2 separate regions of the Homo sapiens genome follow, and region 2 is linked to region 1. Evidence: promoter capture Hi-C in human tissues and cell types (Jung and others, 2019). All regions are on one chromosome and are shown on one strand. Each heading gives the region's core, a stretch centred on a gene start or on the middle of the fragment in contact. The rest is flanking DNA. Distances are from core to core; before and after follow the strand shown. Region 1 holds the start of SPACA7 (sperm acrosome associated 7). Region 2 overlaps LOC105370372 (a long non-coding RNA gene).

The links. The method cuts DNA at HindIII sites, captures the fragments that hold promoters and counts their contacts. A contact is called where the count stands out against the background at its distance.
Region 2: a contact is called between a fragment that was not itself captured here and the fragment with the promoter of SPACA7 in region 1, in 3 of the 25 tissues and cell types used here (dorsolateral prefrontal cortex, spleen and thymus).

The regions. Positions count from the first base shown.
Region 1 is chr13:112,372,604-112,379,658 of GRCh38, forward strand. It overlaps SPACA7 (sperm acrosome associated 7), which reads left to right and starts at 3,752. Exons shown (of 7, transcript NM_145248.5): 1 at 3,752-3,876. The coding sequence starts at 3,783. It overlaps LOC105370373 (a long non-coding RNA gene), which reads right to left and starts at 3,675. Exons shown (of 3, transcript XR_944295.3): 1 at 3,521-3,675. It overlaps LOC105370372 (a long non-coding RNA gene), which reads right to left. Exons shown (of 5, transcript XR_944294.2): 4 at 6,404-6,462; 5 at 6,135-6,263. RefSeq lists an enhancer at 5,204-6,403. The HindIII fragment of the contact is 14,702 bases long and covers 1-6,345 here.
Region 2 is chr13:112,440,991-112,448,045 of GRCh38, forward strand. All of the region lies in intron 2 of LOC105370372 (a long non-coding RNA gene), which reads right to left. Among named protein-coding and RNA genes, the nearest start is that of SPACA7, 68 kb to the left of the region's middle. The HindIII fragment of the contact is 6,990 bases long and covers 687-7,055 here.

The sequences.
Region 1 (7,055 bases), core at 2,502-5,001:
TTAAAAACATCAAAGGCAAATATTCTAAGATGCTAACAGTGTTAATTTTGTACAATGGAACTAAGTATGTTTGCATTTTTCTTGTTTTGTTTTGTTTTGTTTTTGTGAGATGGGGTCTCACTCTGTTGCCCGGGCTAGAGTGCAGTGGCATAATCACAGCTCACTACAGTCTCTGTCTCCCCAAGGTCAGGTGATCCTCCTACCTCGGCCTTCTAAGTAGCTGAGACTACAGGTGCATGCCACCACACCCAGCTAATTTTCGTATTTTTAGTAGATACAGGGTTTCACCTTATTGGTCAGGCTGGTCTCGAACTCCTGACCTCAGGTGATCCACCCGCCTCGGCCTCCTAAAGTGCTGGGATTACAGGTGTGAGCCACCGCACCCAGTTTTTTTTTTTTTTTTTTTTTTTGAGATGGAGTCTCGATCTGCTACCCAGTCTAGAATGCAGTGACACAATCACGGCTCACTACAGCCTCTGCCTCCCCAAGGTCAGGTGATGCTCCTACCTTAGCCTTCCAAGTAGATGGGACTGCAGACATTTACCACCATGCCTGGCTAATTTTTGTATTCTTTGTAGAGATGACGTTTTGCTCTGTTGCCCAGGCTGGTTTCAAACTCCTAGGCTCAAGCGATCCACCCACCTCAGCCTCACAAAGTGCTGGGATAACAGGTGTGAGCCACTGGACCTAGCCTTGCATTTTTCTTTTAATTTTTAAAATTTTTACATTTCCAAAAATTAAAAAAATAAGGAAAGCCTGTTTATTTTAAAAGAGCCATAAAGAGTTCTTTCCTCTTTCCCCTGGAAGATGCAGGAAACAAATCTCTATTGGTATATGACAGAAACAATCTCTCAACTGAAATGCAACCATGGAGAAAAAACTTCTAGGAGTCATATGCTGCTGCTATGACAGTTATGCAAATGAATTAAAGTCCCCATTCAAAGAAACTGGTATAAATAGATTAATTTGTTAAATTCCCTTCTGGTTTTAATGTTGCATGCAAATACAAATGCAAAGGGAATTATGTGTAAAATTGTTGCTAAAAGACAGCAAAGAATAAGAAAAATAAATTTGCCATCAACCTCCCAAGGGTTGGTGAGAGATTCTTCAAACTAGAATCTCATAAAGCAACTGATTAAAAACACATACCAGACACTCTAACCTCTTCTTTCCAATTAGCTAAGCAAATCTATGAAACGCGGGGGGCAGAGCTCTGTGAACTAAGCCAGTCTGACTACCATATATATTTTTTAGACAGAGTCTTGCTCTGTCACCCAGGCTGGAGTGCAGTGGCGCGATCTCCGCTCACTGCAAGCTCCGCCTCCCAGGTTCATGCCATTCTCCTGCCTCAGCCTCCCGAGTAGCTGGGACTACAGGTGCCCACCCAGTTAATTTTTTTGTATTTTTAGTAGAGACGGGGTTTCACCGTGTTAGCCAGGATGGTCTTGATCTCCTGACCTCGTGATCCGCCCACCTCGGCCTCCCAAAGTGCTGGGATTACAGGCGTGAGCTACCGCGCCCGGCCTCTGACTACCATATTTTAGTGCTCAAATCTGTTCCTCCACTCCTGCATCTGGGATTAGTTTGACTCATTTGGCCGATGAGACATTAGCAAATGTGGTGCAAGAAAAGGCTTGTTTGCATCGAGGCTTACTCTCCTTTCTGCTGTGACCAAGCCCAGGCTGCCTGCTAGAGGCCGAGAGACCACATGGAGGGAAGCCTCAGCCATCCCAAGCCCCAGCATCCTAGCTAAGGCCTCAGACATGTCCATGAGGCCACACTAGGCCAGCAGCCCCCAGAGCCAACCCACAAAGTTGTAAGCAATCACACATGGGCTGTATCAAGTCACCGAGCTTCGGGCAGCCTTGAGAATGACTCCTTCCTCGACCAAATCAGCGAGGCTCCTCTGACCCCTCTTCTCAACGAGGCCTCGCCCCCAGCCCTGATCAAATTCCTCATCCTCCGCCTTGAGGTGGAAGTCCCTGGCCTGCCTTAGCCAGACATCCCTCCTTGGTGCAGTGGGTGTCGTTCGACAGGCAGCAGTGCAGGGTTCTGCTGTCATGGGAGCTCTGGCTGCTGTCCGTTTGTACATTCAGCCTCTTAGGCCCATGCTGCTGGCCCCAAAATGACATTCTGAGTAGCAAGAGCCTGGGTTATAGAAGCAAGCATCTCACTTGGACCATTCATTAACTCAGAGTGGGACTTGGAACCCACTGGGTTTCTGTAAATGTCAACCATGCTTAGTGTGCCTTTATGGACACGCTGAAAATCTGAAATATACTCCCCACACCTTGAGGTAGATTGGCTACCACTGCATCTATCAAAAGGAAAACCTGAGCAAAAATGTGCTGTGGGTTCCCATACAAGCAATAAAAATTAAAGAGCCAGAGACCCATGGTGGGTCAGCCATCCTTGGGGTCCTGACCAGACCTCGGGGGCATTGTTAGTCTTGTGCGTCCAGGGCCCCAGTGATATGGTTTGGCTCTGTGTCCTCACCCAAGCATCATCTTGAATTATAATCCTCATAATCCCACGTGTTGAGGGAGGGACTTGGTGGGAGGCGATCTGATCATGGGAGTGGATTCCTGCATGCTGTTCTCATGATAAGTGAGTTCTCACTAGAGCTGATGGTTTTATAAGTGTTTAACAGCTCCTCCTTCATGTACTCTCTCTCCTGCCGCCTTGTGAAGAAGGTGCCTGCTTCCCCTTCCGTCATGATTGTAAGTTTCCTGAGGCCTCCCCAGCCATGCAGAACTGTGAGTCAATTAAATCTCTTTTCTTTATAAATTACCCAGTCTCAGGGAAGTTCTATATAGCAGTGTGGGAACAGACAAACACACCAGCCCTCTCCACCATGGAGCTGGGATCTGAGGGCTGTTCACCTGGGACCCCACCACCGGCCGAGTCTAGACCAGCTGCCCCACTCTGAGCCCTGGATGTAGGAGTCAGTCCAGGGGTGAGATAGGATCCAGGGGAGCCAACCAGAGTGACTCCTTTGGGGTTTTGTCACTGCACGGATGGAGAAAGCTCTAGAAAGTCTAGGAGATAGAGCTGGGAGGATGATAACATGGAAATGCAGCCATGTTCTCCTCTCGTGATTAAAGTCTCACTGCCAGGGAAAGATTGGGGCTGATGCTGAGAAAGAAGGTGTGGGGGAAAGGAGGCTGAAACCTGGGTCATCTGTCTCCTGTTCTTCATGATCCTGGAACTTTGAGGGTGGGGGAGGGTGGGAGGGGACATGGGGCCACGGGCCTCTGTTCTTCAAGGCTCTGTTCTTCAAGGGACCTTTAAGAGGTGATTAGACCCTCTGGATCTGTCGGTTCTGGCACTTGCTCTGTAATTCAACCACCTCTCCAGCATCCTTCAAATACGCCTCTTTCCATGGGAGCAGATTTTGTTGGCTTTTGGCCACTGGCCCTTAAGTCCTGATTAGTATCTACCCCTTGAGTCCTCAGGGTGCTCAGGACAGAGGAAGTCACCAGAACAGGCAATAAGAAAGAGTGGAGAGGATCTCTGTTACCTTAAGACCCCAGTGAGCCTCCTCCCTGCTTCCCAGTCACAGACTCTGGACAGAAACCCTGCCCCCCGCCCCTGGCAAGATGCCAGCTCCCTTCCTGGTCCTGATGTCACAGGTCCCTGGACATGACCTCCCCACCAGGGCAGGACCCCAGCTCCCTTCCTGGTTGTGATGTCACAGGTCCTGACATTCCACAGTGTCCTGGAGACCAAGGATGGGAAACTGTCAACCTTCAGAACGTCCTTCTCCCTCAGCTGGAGGGAGCATGGCAGTGAGCCAAGGAGACGGGACCCTCTGCTTTGTCCTCCTGCTGTGCTGTTGGCAAGAAACTGAGCTCCGGCCGAGAACCGTGATTCCAGGTAGGGCCCCACAGGGATGTCTCAGCAGAAAGAGAACTGAACCAGGTGGGGAGCGGCGGCCTCTTCTCCCATGGGTTCCTCTTATTCCCAACCTACATGAATTTACCATTTATTCCTTGGGGAATGAATGTAGCTGAAAAGTCTTTCTATCTTTGAAGACTTTTTAAAATCTAGATGTCCATAGGAAAGTTGCAAATGTTACTTATTTTAACTTTTTATTATGGAAAATTTCTAACTGGGAAGAATATCATGAACCTTCGTGTATTCACCCTCAGGTTCAATTATTGTGCATATTTTGTTTTTTTCTACACACACACACATACACACTCCACACCACATACACACACTTTTCTTGTTTGGGGAGTATTTTAGCACCATCCCAGATGCCTTACCACCTCATGTAAAACATTTTCTTGCGAAGAGATAAAAGCATTATCTACAATGTCATAATCAGACTAACATAATTACCAAAAGCCTTTATCTCAGCTCATACCGTTAAAAAATATTTGTGATGCTTGCTAAAGATGGGCAGGCAGCCTTTATTCAAAGGGGGCTACTACCATGGTGTCTCATAATAGTGGAGAGTGGGCTCAACTCCAAATACAGGGAAAGTGGAGATTTGCAGCCAAGGATCAGGGTGGGTCAGTGGATGAACATTGCTAAAAGGTAGGAGAATTCTTTGCTAAACTGATTCAGCAAAGGCCAAGAGGGCTTTTATAAACAAAAATGAAGCATTTATATTTTTTGTCCCACCTGATTACTCTAGAATTTGGATATTATGATTTTCAGGACCATACAATTGTTTGCATAAGTTTAATAAAAATTGATTATCCTTGCAACAGGACACAAAGGTCTGCTATCTTTGAAGACCTTTTAAAATCTAGACATCCATGAGAGAGTTGCATATGTTACTTATTTTAACTTTTTATTATGGAAAATTTCTAACTTGGAAGAATATCATGAACCTCCATGTATTCACCCTCTAGTTCAATTATTGTGTATATTGTGTTCGGCCAAACAGGAGGCCAGACCTGAAAGGAAGCCAAGGCAATAAAATAATCAAAGATGGAGGGTGAGGAATTTGATCAGATATCAAGGGTGACCAGGCCAAGACTAGGGGATTTCCACTAAAAGACTTCACAGGATTCCTACTAAACATGGGGAAAAGCAGACAAAAGCAGAAGCTAGGGTCAAGGCCTAGTCAAAGAGAAGACTCAGAGGAGCCTGGCATGAGGTAAGTCAAGGAGCGAGGCTTTCTCATTCCCTCCTCTTGTTCAAGAAAGAAGAGACATTCCTTTTCTCTTTGAACAAGATAAGTCCATGTTTCATCTGGTGGAGGATGTGTGCTGGATGGTACAAGTAGTCGGGAATTTAATGAGGGGAATGTCTACGAAAAAGAGAAGAAAAACAAAGATTTATAGTTGGAAACACAGTTTCCGAATCCAGAGGGCAGTCTGTTGAGAAGATTTCTGGATTTTGGGCTCAAGGTATCTTCAGCCGATGGGGCAAGGATGGATTTCCTAGTTTGCAGGGGGTGTGTCCTTGGTGACATCATGACCATCAGAGCCACAGTCATGGTTATGCTGGGGGCAGAGCGTGGATGTGTCCAGCTTCAGCCTTTCCAGATGGTCCCACGGAAGGCCTGAGTTGTCAGGCTTTAGTTCTCACTAACACCCAGTCAGGAGGGCAGAAGAAAGACTGGAAATGTTAGCCTGGGAACATTGAAGGACTCTAAAAGGCTTCAGGATCCAGTCCAGTTTACAGGTAGATAACAAAGTAGAAAGTAAGGTGGAGTTTATCAAAAGATAAAAAAAAGTAGAATACACAGGGTTATAACTCACAAGGGTGTGCTACCATTTTTCATTAAAACATAAAATATGGCTCTATGGTCACCCTCTTTTTTTGATCAAGATAACCAAAGTAATGCTATTCTTGTCTCAAAAATATATCACATCTTACAAGATTTGGTCTGATTATTTACATAAGTGCAGCAAGAATGGTAATGGACCACATAAACTGAGTTTTCTCTGCTGGAGCTTTTTACAAGGAATCTCAGATTAGATTTTTTAAAAGCTTTTTGAGGCTAGGAAGCCCAGCCAAAAACTCACCATCAGACTTCACATGTGGTACCTAAAGACTTGGGTGAATTTCTCTCTTCCGAAGGTCTCGAGGTTCCCAAAGTTCCTGGATCTGCCAGCAAATGACCTTCTTCACTCACCTGTGGGATGGGGACCCGGTGAGCCAGGTAGCAGGTCAGTTTCTCCAGCTCCATCAAATCAACCTCAGTTTTTAAAAACTGTCTGGTCACCTCTGATTCTATGTATCAATCTCAAATATGACATTCCAGTCAAAGCCTTGGTAATATGACCAATGTTTCCAATCGTGTCCTGTTGCAAGGAGAATCAATTTTTATTAAACTTACGCAAACAATTGTATGGTCCTGAAAATCATAATATCCAAATTCTAGAGTAATCAGGTGGGACAAAAAATATAAATGCTTCATTTTTGTTTATGAAAGTGTAATTACCAAATTGTTGTCCGTTATGCGTAGCCTAAGAGAAACCGGAAGCAGAGAGTTCTTTAAATCTGGAAAACAAAACATTAAAAAACCAGAAACATTTCCAAGAAAATTCAGAAAAATTATAATCGTCCCCACATTGAGTCCCACATCATTAATTCTTGTTCTACTTGATCTTGGGTTAGCAGGTTTACAAATCCGTCAATGTCTCCCTGAGTTCTGGAAAAGTCCAGTCTAATAGTGCAATCTTAGAGGCGTCAGAAACCTTACTCCAGAGTACTTGGCAGAGTCTTACCTAAAAATCTCCTTGAAGACAAAGAATTTTTGGACTGTAGCTGATTGCAAAAGCTTTCAAAAAAGCATCAGAGTAAAACAATAATTGTCTTGAATGACAAAAGACATAAAATGCATAAAATGGCCATGGTTAAAAATCTGATGAGAGTTCATTATGCTGCAATTGACAAGGAAATTTGGTTGTTTCTGTGACATACAACATTACAAGACAATAACGGAAATTAGGACTCATAACTTTATACCAGGACATATCATGGACAGTAAGGACAGTGAAAATTTCTAGGAATTTAATACAATTTCTGAAACACTTATAACATATATGCATACAAATATAAAGAAGGTTAAACATCCCTTATTTGACAATGCT
Region 2 (7,055 bases), core at 2,932-5,431, 69 kb after region 1:
CTCGGCTCACTGCAACCTTCGCCTCCCAGGTTAGAGCGATTCTCCTGCCTCAGCCTCCCAGGTAGCTGGGATTACAGGCACGCATCACCACGCCCGGCTGATTTTTGTATTTTTAGTAGAGACCAGGTTTCCCCATGTTGGCCAGGCTGGTCTCAAACTCCTGACCTCAGGTGATCCACCCACCTCGGCCTCCCAAAGTGCTGGGGTTACAGGTGTGAGCCGCCGCGCCTGGCCCCCATTCGTTTATTCACAAAAGCACACGCCCGTCTGCTGTTAAACCAACTCCAGGAGTTTCACCACCTTTCAGAAGATGCTACTTTTGAGTAGTGTCTACACAGCAAGAGCCATAGAGGATCCAGCCACTGTCTGCGGCTTTCCTACAGAGAAGAGGGACGGACCGCCACGACCCCCCCCGTCCCCAACTTGCCTGTGTCTTCACTGCTGAATCAGCTGAGCCCAAGTCCTCGGCGGCTGGAACAGACCCTTCCAAAACCGCGCAGGCCCAAGCCCCACGCCCCAGTGCCAGCGTCCTTGCGTGGCTTTGGCTCCAAGGACTTCTGCTATCGATGTTTGGCGCCCTCCTCACCTTTATTCCAAGTGTGAGTTTCCCTTTTCTGGAGTTTATGCTGTTTGGTGAACTGCGCTTTCTAGACACAGCTCTCCAGAGATGAACCTGATTTCCATTGGAAAGCATGGCCTCTTTCCCCTGAGGACCGTGGGCCAGGAGGCCTCTGCTATTCCTGGTCTCTCTGAAAACAGCCTGTGGTCCTTTTCCTTGGGCATTGGGATGGTTTCTGCTCTGGCATGGTCCTCCGTCTCCTTGTGCCCCAGCCAAAGGAAATGGTCCCAGGCAGTCCCATGGCCTGACGCACCTCTGCCCAAGGAGACGCTGCTCACACGCTGGCTGGACACACCCCATGGGAAACATGCACGTTCAGGCACACTTGAGGTCATCTGTGCCGAGGCCGCTCCCTGCCCGAACCCCCCCACCCGTTGTGCTCTCCACGACTGGCGCCTTTGCTGCTGTGCACAGAAGCCCTACCGTGTGCACTGCCGTAGCACAGCCCAGACCTGCCACTCACAACATGGCAAGGCCAGCACCCCAGCGCCCCACATAACCACCTACAGTGGGCCTCAGGTGTGATGCAGCCACACTGCCGTGCAGGCAGACCCAGCTGGATTTCACAGCTGTGCTTGAGGGCAGAGGTCGGCAAAGATTCTCCATCAAGGGCGGGATGAAAAGCATTTGAGGCTTCACAGGCTCTCTGGTCCCTGTGGCAACTCAACCTCCGGATTATAGCACAAAAGCACTAGAGGCCGGGTGCGGTGGTTCACCTGAGGCCAGGAGTTCAAGACCAGCCTGGCCAACATGGTGAAACCCTGTCTCTATTAAAAATATTTTTTAAAAAAAAATTAGCCAGGCGTGGTGGCGGGAACCTGTAATCCCAGCTACTCGGGAGGCTGAGGCAGGAGAACCACTGGAGCCTGGGAGGCCGAGGTTGCAATGAGCTGAGATCACGCCACTGCACTCCAGCCTGGGTGACAGAGGAAGACTCTATCTCAAAAAAAAAAAAAAAAAGCCAGCAGAGGGGATCCATGAACCACGGGCTTGGCTGTGTCCCAGGAAGCTTTATTTACAAACCTAGGTGGGAGCTGCACCCACGGGAGCTTTCTCAGCAGGAGGAGAAGCCCGCCCTGCAGTCCCTCCCTGCACGGGGACCACGGTGGGCTCCTGAGCACTTCCAGTAGGTGCGACTGCAGAACTGAACTCTTCATTTTATCTGGATGAGTTTAAATGTAAACGATCTGTGTGACTGGTGACTCCCACGCTGCCCCGCGCAGCTCTGGGAGCACAAACCTCAGGACGGGTCTCTGCAGGCCCCACCTCTCCCATGAGCCCCACCTCCACGTGTGCCCGGGGCGGGTCTCCCAGCAGCACCACCTCCTCCACCCCCGAAGCTGCTTCTTAGACCAAAGGCTTGCTCCTTGCAAAAGACTGAACAGCTGCATCGTTTCCTAGGTAAGAGGCTGCATACGAAGCTTTAGAAGGCTAAACGTGGCTGGCCCGGGAAACACTGTGTTAAAAAGATGGGACTTTTTAAGAGGCCACATAGACTTGAAAAATATTTGTAATAAAATGTTTTCCAGCTAAAGATCCCACACGATGTTTTTCAACCCAGAAAGCACTCTTACTCCTTGATCCTGAATCACTGATAGAAGAGCTTTGTAAAAGGTGATTCCGACGGCCCTACCAAGCAGATGGCCGGCAGACAGCCCCGAAACACCAGGAATCCGTCCCCGGGGCTGGGTGGAGCAGGCAGGGCTGGCCGGGAGTGAGCAACCAGGTGCTGCCAATTTCACCCTGGCCACCCCTGTCCCAGGCAACGCAGGCTCCAGGAAGGGAGTTCCAGGGTTCAAGTCTCAAAGTCAGGGGCAAGATCTTTCAGCTCGTGGGGTGGTGGTGAGGGCTGACTTAGACGTCGAAAACAGTAGGTCTGAGGAAGTGAAGGAGGTAGTTAATAATAAGAACAACGGACCCCTCCGCCACTTCTGGGGGCTGACCCAGAGCCACACGTCTCATCCACCCGAAGGCGACGGCACCAGGCAGTGAGGACACACGACCGCCACCCTGTGGTCATCACGCACCCTCCAGCCCCAAGGGCAGCCCCACGCCTGCAGTGGTGAGGGGCTCCAGGAGACAGAAGCTGTGGGACCACCCACACACGCACACACACATCACACAGAGGGGGAGATTTTCAGGAACTGGTCGGGAACCTGAGAGAGTCGACACTGCCGTTCAAGTGCAGAGCTCTCTGCAGGCAGGATTCCCTCTTCTGTGGGGACCCCAGTCTTTTTCTTAAGACGTTCCGCAGAGTGGATGAGGCCCACCCACACCACAGCCAGACGACTTTTCTCAAAGTCCCCTGAATTAACATTAATTTCATAGAAAAAGTTGTTCACAGCCGCGTCCCAGGGGCGTCTGTCCAGATATCTGGGTGCCATGGCCCAGCCAGGTTGACATGAGGATTGACCATCACCTCACCCTCCCATCCTCACCCCGCTAAACACAGGGGGATTGGCGGAGAAGCCAGGATCTGTCAGTGGACAGAGCCCAGGCTGAGCCCAGAAGCTGCAGCGCCTGGGCCGGGACCTCAAGCCCTGTCCTGCACTGCCTCTCTATGGCGGGTCCGGGAATAGCAGCCTCCTTCGTCCGGGAAGTTCAGGCTCAGCTGTGCACACCTGACAGGAGGCCGCAGGGTGGCCGAGAGCCCATCCCAGACCCATGACCCCACAGCAAAGCCCTTCATGCTGCCTTGCCCCACACAGGCCCCCGTGACCTTTCCTCCCCGGCAGATGGGGCCACAGAGGAGACCCCGAAAAGATAGCCCCCCAACAGTCCCCCATTACCAAGGCCCTGTGGCTGCACCAGAGGCCATGAGAGTGGGGGCGGTGGGCAGAGCAGACTGTGAAAGGGCTTGGGAGACATGGGGCTTGGGGGTTTTGGGTGGGGGTAAAGACTGGGGTTTGGGGTCAAGCGGGGGTCTGGGACCGTGCCTCACCACGGGATCTGTGTACACAGCGATGCACCCAGCGTACGCGGGCCCTTCCCTCTGAGCCCTCGGCCCCTCATCTGCAGGATGGGTGAGCCCTGGAGAAGCGGGCAGAAGCAGAGGAGGCAGCGAACGCAGAGCATGTGGCCTGTGACTGAGCCTAGAAAGTCCGCTCGGCAACAGAGGCTGCAATCCAGAAAGCCCCCTCGGTGACAGAGGCTACAATCTAGAAAGCTCGCTCAGCGACAGAGGCTACCACCTAGAAAGCCTGCTCGGCGACAGACACTACAATCTAGACAGCCCATTTGGCGACAGTGGCTACAACCCAGACAGCCCGCTCAGCAACAGTGTCTATGATCTAGAAAGCTCCCTCGGCAACAGCAGCTGTCATCTAGAAAGCCCGCTCAGCGACAGAGGCCACAATCTAGAAAGCCTCCTCAGCGACAGCGGCTGCGACCCAGAAAGCCCTCTCAGTGACAGTGGCTATGATCGCTCGCAACTCTGGCCCCTGGCTCTGTTGGTCAAGCCTGCCACAGCCCGGAAGCCTCTGCAGCCTCCCTGTTGCTGCTGAAAAGGACGCTGGTTGGAGAAGGACCCAAGGAAGCACCGACAGATTGGGACCGGCTCGGGGCTGACTAGCCGGGAGGCTGAGAGGCTGGTGCCCAGGCTGCCCCTTGACCCTGCTGCACCAGCGCCGCCTCTGCGTTTGGTCCTGTCTCAAAGACCGAGGGGAACAACAGAGCAGGGTGGGGGTGAGGAGACTGAGGTGAACAGAGCAGGATGGGGGTGCGGAGACTGAGGTGAACGGGTGAGGAGGACTGAGGTGAACCCACCCTTGCTGGCCATTTCCGTTTCCCCACGAGGCAACATTACTTTTCAATACTGGGTAAAGGCTGTGCGACCACAGAACCACAGATGTCAGACCCCTCCCACTCTGACCAGAAAGCCCCCTTCGAGGAGCCTGAGGCTGCCCTGCCTGCGTCCGCTTCACTCGTGTCCACACTCACAGCTTCCACCCCTTGCACCCCCCATGGAGGGGGCGGCAGGCGGCCGCTCAAGGTCCGCTCCCCGTGCCCTGCCCGCCACGCCCGCCCTCCCTCCCCGGGCTCTCCCCGCCCTGGTCCCGCACAAGCTGAGCCCCTCTGCCTTCACCCTCAGGGAAGCGGGCTCCCTGTTAGGGACTTGGAGCAAGGTCGGCCCCTACTTTCCCGCTGCCCCTCAAGATTTCACAGTGAGAAGCTGGGCTGGGGACCCGCAGGTGTTCACAGAGGCTCACTGTCACTGTCTCAACGCTGGGGTCTGTTCTGTTTAGACTCACCTCGATCCTGTACCTGGACACAGTAGGGTTCATGGTCTTTTGCTGAACTAAGCTGAGCTGGATTCCAGCCCTCCAAGGAGCCTGTGATGGGAGGGGCTGGTCTCTCCCTTGGCGAGGAGTAGGGAGGAGCCAATGGGCACAGAATGGAGACACACCCCACTCAGGTCCAGTGGTCAGAGGTGGGGCAGGGGGCCCAGTGGTCAGAGTGACGAAGGTGCTGTGTCCTGGGGAGGCTCAGCCCCTGCCAGCATCCCACCCCCTCCAGGCAGCAGCTTCCCGGCGTTCCTGGATCCCCTCTTGCCTTTAACTCCCACCTGCACGATCCAGTTCTCCCACACTCCATGCGTGTTCCTACTGAACGCCGACGGGGACAATTGCAGAAAGCCCAGGAGCCTTTAGGTTGGGTTTGCCTGCTCTTTTCTGACACCCAAGGGCTACAATAACATTTGCTTTTGAGGGAAGCTGCCATTTTTAATCAGCTGAACAGTGACCCAGCACAACAGGCTGAGTACTGCAAAGAAAAGTTTAACAGAATAAATGTGGGGACAGGCACAGAGTCCGACAAGAGTGGCCACCATGCAGGAGGCAGGTGTGTCTGGGGCAGATGGGGGAGGCTCCGCAGCGAGCCCAGGAAGCCCAGTCCTCAGCGGTGGATGGGGCTTCCGTGGCCAATACAACCCGTGTGGCTGGATTACAAAGAAGGGTGTCTAGAAGCCGCACTGCCTCTCCCAGGCACCTCTGAGCTGGTCCCAGGAGGGGCTGCTGTGAGTTAAGGAGAACAGCAGTCAGCTGGGACTGAGAGTTACGTCCAACGAGAAACGGGGGAGTCCAGGGTGTTTCTCATGTACTGAGACAGCAAAGGACCCACAGGGTGTGTGTGCACAAGCAACTGCAGCTGCCACGAGGGCCAGGCTTGTTCTGCTGGTCCAAGGAATCCAGTGGCCACAGGAAGACATTTCAGCCCCATGCAGTGCCCAGCACAGGGAGCACCGCCTCTGCAGGGGCCGGGCTCAAGGCCACACCCAAGGCCCATGTCCAGCACTCCCCAATGACCAGCACTCCCCGGACACCCCCAAGGCCCATGGCCAGCACTCCCCAGCCACCCTGCCTCCCCTCCCCGCAGACACACAGCCCCTGGGACCCTACTCCAGCACTCCCCAGCCACCCTGCCTTCCCTCCCCGCAGACACACTGGGCCCCCACTCCAGCCAGTAACTCCACCACAGCCTCCAGGGGCAGGTCAGTCCCGTCTGCCGCCTCCACCCATCCAAACCGCCCTGGTGACCGCGCAGCAGTCTCCATGCCGCAAACCCAGACACGGGCTGCGTTGTTTCCCAAAGTCCAGGGTGGTCGGCAGCCGTAAATGAGCCCAGCCACCCCTTCCCCTGGGATCTACTTCCCCGGTAATCCTCTCCCCTTGAGCACGGACTGAACTCGTGGAATATGGAAACATGATGGAATATTGCTTCCAACCTCAGGCCACAAAACAACTGTGGCTTCCATTTCAGGGCCTCTCATGCTTTCTCTCTCTCTTATGTACTCCAAGGCAGGCAGCTGTCAGGCCATGGCTTCCCTCTGGAAAGCCCAGGTGACAAGGAACCTGGCCACAGTCAGTGGGAGCCCACTGTGGAAGTGGATCCTTCTCCTGCTGAGCCTTCTGATGAGACCTGGGCCTGGCCACAGCTTGCTGTCCTCAGGAGAAGCCCTGGGCAGGAGGTGCCCAGCTACAGGCCCTGGATTCCCGACCCCATAAACTGTGCCATAATGTGTGCTTTAAGCCATTGCATTTGGGATAACTTGTTATTCAAAAGTAGACAAAGGGCCGTAGATCTTCCTGAGCCCATGAAGAAAGCTCACTAATGAGGGCTCACTGAGTCTGGAGCAGCTTGTGTCCTGCCATTCCAGCAGCAGCAACGTGCGCAGGAGGAGGGTGGGGCCCCCGAGGGGCTCTCCTGCTCCCACACCCCTCCCCACTGGACGTGGCTATCCATGGACGCCAGGTGAAAATCCACATCACAGCAGCCTTGAAGGAGACATGCGGCTCCAGGGGGCTGAGGAGCAGGAGTGGGGATGATCAAATCAGATTCGAGAGCATCTCATCGCCCCTAATGGGGCCGCCCTCTCTCCATCCCGGACCCCTGCCTGACCGCCCCCTGGGAGCAGAGTGCTCAGCCACGATGGCCACAC